Regions from separate parts of the Homo sapiens genome. Here region 1 is linked to region 2. The links are contacts of gene promoters, found by promoter capture Hi-C in blood cells and fetal thymus (Javierre and others, 2016). All regions are on one chromosome and are shown on one strand. The core of a region is centred on a gene start or on the middle of the fragment in contact, and the rest is flanking DNA. Distances in the headings are between cores, read along the strand shown.

Region 1 (3,398 bases), core at 226-2,725, about 20 Mb before region 2:
TGGAAGGTTCCGCGATCTTTCTATTAACCCTAAAGGGACAGAGGGCTGACAGGAAGTTGCCCGGGGAACGGTGCACTCTGGGAAATGTAGTCCGGAGCCTGGGCCGTCTTTAACTGCCCCGGACACCGCGGTCACCATTAACGGACCCTGCATTTGAGCCCCATCCCCTCGCTGGGCAAAGACCATCGCCCACACACCGCTCACATCTGCTGCCGAGAGCTTCCAGAATTCCAGGCCGCGTTTAGGAAGCTTCAGCGGAGGCATGCAGGCTGCCCTACCTCTGCAAAAGGCTCCCAGCCCTGGGAACAGGACAGTAAGCCCAGGCCATCTTAGGCTGGAAGTAACCTTGGTCCCGACGGCCCTGGGAAATGTAGTCCAGAGCCTGGAACACTGCAGAAATGCCCCGGGGGGATGGTGCGATGGTTTTCAGTAGGAGCTCGCTGCGTGGGCCTCTGACCTATGTGGCATGGCGGGAAAGTCCTACAAGACTGTGCCAAGCGAGTGGCGAGTCTGTCCCGTCTCTGCCCGAGCCTCGGCCCGGCTGGGTGGACACCTCTTGTCCCACAAGTACCAGCCTGGGATAGAACGAAGGGGAAACGATCCATGGGACACAGCTACATGCCCAGCCCTATAGGGGTACCCTGTCTGGGAATCCATGAGAACTCTTCCTAATACCTTATTCCCATCCTCCAATCGCCCTTAAAGTGTTTGGTTTCAATTAATGTTTATAGTAACATTAGTACTGTTTTGTAAATTCCATTCATGCCATTCTTTTTGCTGAAGTACACACTTGCCAGTTTTCATTTGCTTCTCTTTTAGATGTACATCATTTCAATCTACATCTAAACTTTCTGACAGAGGAGTAATTTTTTTCAGTACTTTCAAACTTATCAGGTAACTAAAATAGTTGTTTCTTTTTTTATTGTGAAACAGAAAATACTTGAAGTGCATAAAATGTGTAAGTTCAGTATAACTCCACACAAGTGTTGGTATCTCAAGAACAAATGCCCATTCTATGTGATCATTTCTCTTTTTGTTTGTTTGTTTGTTGTTTTTTTTGAGACAGGGTCTGGCTTTGTCACCCAGGCTGGAGTACAGTGGCACGATCTAGGCTCTCTGCAACCTCTGCCTCCCTGGCTCAAGTGATCCTCCCACCTCAGCCTCCAGAATAGCTGGGACTACAGGTGTGTGCCATCACACTCAGCTAATTTTTATAGAGACAGGGTCTCGCCATGTTGGCCAGGCTGGTCTCGAACTCCTGGGCTCAAGTGATCCTCCCAAGTAGGCCTCACAAAGTACTGGCATTACAGGCATGAGTCACTGCACATAACCTGTGTGATCATTTCTGATACCCAGCTCCAGCTCCAGCTGATCTTTAGGGTATTAATAATATCTTGGCTCTTTAATAGTTTTAATCTCTCAGCTGGACGCGGTGGCTCACGCCTGTAATCCCAGCACTTTGGGAGGCTGAGGAGGGTGGATCACCTGAGGTCAGGAGTTCGAGACCAGCTTGGCTAACATGGTAAAACCCTGTCTCTACTAATAATACAAAAATTAGCTAGGTGTGGTGGTGCATGCCTGTAATCCCAGCTACTCTGGAGGCTGAGGCAGGAGAATCGCTTGAACCCAGGAGGCAGAGGTTGCAGTGAACCAAGATCACACCACTGCACTCCAGTCTGGGCGACAAGAGCGAAACTCCATCTCAAAAAAAGAAAAAAAAGTTTTAATCTTGCTGTGAAATGTATATAAATGCAATCAAATTGTACAAATTTTCTGTCTTGATTAGTTGTTAAACTCCTAACTGGATTAACCGAAAACCCCATAGTAAAGGCCTTACAGAAGGAAAGGTATGCCCATCCAGCCATCAACATCATTTTCCTGGTACTACTGGCAGGGGACCCCAAGACCAACCACTACACGCCCAAGCTCTGATGATTCACTGGGAGGCTCACAGTGAAGTGATACAAAAGAAAATCAGTAAAGAAAAAAGCGCATGGGGCAAAGTCCAGGGGAAACCAGGTGCACACTGCGAAGGGTTCTTTCCCAGTAAATTTATATGGGATTTATTTGTTCCCCAGCAGTGAGTTGTGACAATACATGTGAGATGTTACCAATCAGGGCAGTTTATTATAGATTCAGTGCCCTATGTTTTTATTGGGGGCTGGTCACATAGGCAGTCTGTGCCTAACACATACCAGAATTTCAAATTCCCAGAAGGAAAGCGGGTGTTTAACATAAACCATACTGTTTGTACAAAAAGTTTAGGCATAGTAAGCCACTTATTAGGAAGGTGGGAACCAATCTGAAATTCAAGTTCTAGATGCAAGCCAAAGACTAACCTCGCATATCAGGCCTTTCTAAGGATAAGTAGTCTCAGACCTGCTATGTTAACTAATTTCTGCTCACTACTGTCCTAAAGATGTATGGTTTTCAGCAACATCAAATTACAAGACACATGAAAAGGCAAGAAAAATCATGACACTCAAGACATAAAAGCAAAAAGCAACAACAAACAAATAGAGGTAGACTCAGGTAGGATCTCCCCAGGAGCTTGAGGCTGCAGTGAACTGTGATTGCACCACTGCACTCTAGCCTGGGCAACAAAGCAAGACCCTACCTCAAAAATTAAAAGAAAAGAAAAAGATATGATGTAGATGTTGGAACTATCTAAAAAGGAATTTAAAATATTATTAATATTTTCAAAGCTTTACCATAATGTTTTTCAACCAGAGGTGATTTTGTTCTCCAGGAGATATACAGCACAGTATGAAGTTCTTGGTAGTCACAACTGGAGAGGTACAATTTGCATTTAGAGGACAGAGGTCAGGGAAGCTGCTAAATACACTACAAGCACAGGATAGCTTGCCACAACAAAGAATTATCCAGTCCCAAATAATGGTCCAAGGTTGAGATGCCCTAAGTAATCAAGACAGTGTGTTTTTGGTGAAGGACAGAAAGATAGATTAATGGAAGGAACAGGCTGGGCACGGTGGGTCATGCCTGTAATCCCAGCACTGTGGGAGGCCAAGGCAGGTGGATCGCATGAGGTCAGGAGTTTGAGACCAGCCTGGCCAATGTGGTGAAACCCCATCTCTACTAAAAATACAAAAATTAGCTGGGTATGGTGGCTCGTGCCTGTAATCCCAGCTACTCAGGAGGCTGAGACATGAGAACCTCTTCAACCTGGGGAATGGAGGTTGCAGTGAGCTGAGATGACACCACTGCACTCCAGCCTGGGCAACAGAGCAAGACTCCATCTCAAAAAATATATATATATATTTTTAGGCCAAGGCAGGCGGATCACCTAAGATCAGGAGTTCAAGACCAGCCTGTCCAACATGGCGAAATCCCATCTCTACTAAAAAATACAAAAATTAGCTGGATGTGGTAAGGCAGGG
Region 2 (3,057 bases), core at 221-2,720:
CCATGTGCTCAGAGGACTGGAACTCACAGCTCCACCCTCTACTTCTGGGAAAAGAGAGAGCCTGAAAATTAAGTTGATCGCCAGTGGCCAATGATTTAATCAATCACATCTACATAATGAAACCTTGAAAACCGAAAAGGCCTGAGTTCAAGCGGCTTCCAAGAAGGTAGACAAAAACACATCCTCGTGCTGGGAGGGTGGTGCACCCCAACTCCACGGGCACAGAAGTTCCTGCACTAGGGATTCTCTCGGACCTTGCCCTACATGTCTCTTCATCTGGCTATTTGTATCCTTTAAAATATCTTTTATAATAAACCAGTAAACATAAGTGTTTCCTTGAGTTCTGTGAGCTGCTCTAGCAAACTAATGGAACCCAAGGAGCCGGCTGTGGGAGCCCCAATTTATAGCACATCTCTCTGAAACACAGGTACAACAATCTGGAGTTTGGAATTGGCATGGGAAGTGGGGGACAGTCTTTTGGGACTGAGCTGTCTAACCTGTAGGATCTGATGTTTTCCAGGTAGCGTCAGAATTGAATTGGAGTAGCGGTCACCTGGCTGGTGTCTGCTGCAGACAGGTTTTTTTGACATGTTAAGACATTATAAGAGACAATAGAAAAAATGTATACGATACAACCTTCTCTGAGTTATATTTCTCCATAGCCCTTTTTACTGTTCATCAGACTGTTTATCTAACTCATGAATTTGTGGCTTGTCTCTCTCCGCTTCAAAGTAAATTACATAATAAGAGGACAGGGATTTTTTTTTCTCTGCTGTATCCCCCTGAATTGCTTTTCCTTATTTGTCTCACCTTCCAATACTAATTCTACAGTTCTCCTAGTCAGGGCTAGTCCCCTAAAACGGGGACCATTTCCATTTTGTTAAGGGGCTGAACGCGGTTCAAGCCTAGCAGATTGGTTCCAAAAACGTCGTGTTATTCACTGCCTCTGATCAGTGACATTCCCATTTGCAGCTGAAAGAGGTATTAATTCGCCAGAGTCACAACACGGTCGGGGTTCCTCGTCGCTGTCTTATTCCAAAATAAGCTTAACACAGAAAGATAATGACACTCCCACGGACTGGCACAGAAGGCCGCGCTCCGAATGACATCGCGATCACAGAGGCACAGACAGCGTCACAAAGCCCCACGCGTACTCACACCGAAGGCTCAGCCGTCGCGCGTTTCCCTCCCAGGCCCCAGGAACTAGTAACTAGGGACGCTTCTGGTCTCTAGGCGAGGAGAGGGGGAGAGCGCAATCTTTGCGCCTGCGCACACTCCTGCTCTTACCCGCCGGAACCCTGGGCCACGCCCGGCTCGCGTAATCACGCACTGCGCAGGCACCGCCCGCTCTGCTCTAAGGTCCCTCTCACTCCTTCAGCAGCCCGAGGACAATCCCCTCAACACTAGGCCACGCCTTGTCTCCGCCCCTCTCGTCCGACCCCTGGAGAGAGGCTGGCGCCTGCGCGATGGGGGGTTCCAGCGTCGACTCACGGAGTCCTTCGGATGAGAGCGTCTGGGTGCCAGACGAGGCCGGGGGTTTGTTTTGGGTGGTTTGGGAGTCCGAGCTCGAGGGCTGGGCCAGGAAGGGCAGGCGAGGCGGGCGGCTCCGACGCGGGTCGCGAAGGCCCAGCCGCGTCCTCTGTCCCCAGGACGACTACATTTCCCAGAGGCCAGCGGGGCGCGCGTACTCGAGTCTGCGGGGCGGAGGCCGCGGCTCGGGGCTGCTGGGCGTTCGGGGCGGCTTGGGGCGGCGGGACCACTGGAGTGAGCTGTGGGAGAGATGGGGGTGTGCCTGTGTGTAAAAGATCTGTCAGAGTGTGAGGCTCCGTGAGAGGGTGTGGTTTCTGTGTGTGTGTGTGTGTGTGTGTGACAGACCGAGAGTCCAGTGTGAGACCAGGGTATGTTCGTGTGTGACAGAGCGAGACGGGCCAGTGTGAGAGACCAGTGAGTGTGAGAGAGATAGGGATGTGCCTGCATTTGAAAGAGAGCGTGTGAAGCTCAGTGAGAGGTTGCGAGGTGTGTGGGTGTGTAAGTGTGTAACAGACCAGGTGTCCAGAGCGTGAGACCAGGATGTATTCGTGTGAGAGAGTGAGACGGGCTGGATGGAGTGTGAGAGACCAGTGAGTGTGAGAGATGGGCGTGTGCCTGTGTGTGAAAGGCCGGTCGGTCGGTGGGTGAGGCTCAATGAGAGGCCGGTGTGTGTTCGAGAGAGAGAAGAATCACCATGTATGCGAGACTAGACTGTGCAAGAACAGAGTGTGAGACTGTGGTATGTTAATGTGTGAAAGGGAGACCAGTGAGTGTGAGAAATGGGTGTTTTGGGTGAAAGACCCGTCAGTGTGTGAGGCCGTGTTATGTGTGTCTGACAGACTGAGAGAGACCAGAGTGTGAGACCAGGGTGTGTTCGTGTGTGAGAGACAACATAGCGTGAGACCAGTGAGTGTGAGAGAGATGAGCACGTGGCTGTGTGTGAAAGACCAGTCATTATGTGAGGCTCCTTGAGAGGCTGGTGTGTGTGTATGAGAGAGAGAAAGAGACTAAACTGTGAGAGTCCAAAGAGTGAGACTAGGTTATGTTGTTATGAGTTTGTGAGAGAGAGGGAGGCGATCAAAGTATAGGACAAAGTTATGTTTCCTGGCTTACGACTTCTAAGATCCTTGGAATCTCCAAAGTATTAAGTGTCTTTTTGCATGCTAATGATTGGTGGGCTGGCAGCCTGTAGGTTGATCACGGTAAGGGATGGTCACAAGAACAATCTAGGCAGGATTAGAGGGTTGGGATTACCTGCCCCATCCCTCAATCTCCAGGGAAAGGAAAGGGAGCCACAGGTTAAACTGATCATCAGTGGTCAGTGATTTAACCAGTCATGCCTACATTATGAAGCTTCCATAAAAACCCAAAAGGACTGGGTTCATCAAACTTCCAGATAGCTGAACACTGGAGGTTCCTGTAGGATGAGCCCCTTCCTATATAACCTTGTCCTATGCATTTCTTCACCTGCATCCTTTGTAATATCCTTTATTACTACAAACGTGTTTCCCTAAGTTCTGTGAGCTG

The links. The method cuts DNA at HindIII sites, captures the fragments that hold promoters and counts their contacts. A CHiCAGO score of 5 or more calls a contact.
Region 1: a contact is called between a fragment that was not itself captured here and the fragment with the promoter of ZNF471 in region 2, in 1 of 17 cell types (total B cells). The highest score is 7.1, in total B cells.

Annotation. Positions count from the first base shown.
Region 1 is chr19:36,838,360-36,841,757 of GRCh38, forward strand. It overlaps ZNF790 (zinc finger protein 790), which reads right to left and starts at 28. Exons shown (of 5, transcript NM_206894.4): 1 at 1-28. The HindIII fragment of the contact is 2,456 bases long and covers 248-2,703 here.
Region 2 is chr19:56,506,385-56,509,441 of GRCh38, forward strand. ZNF471 (zinc finger protein 471) reads left to right here and starts at 1,471. Exons shown (of 5, transcript NM_020813.4): 1 at 1,471-1,536. The HindIII fragment of the contact is 1,838 bases long and covers 1,044-2,881 here.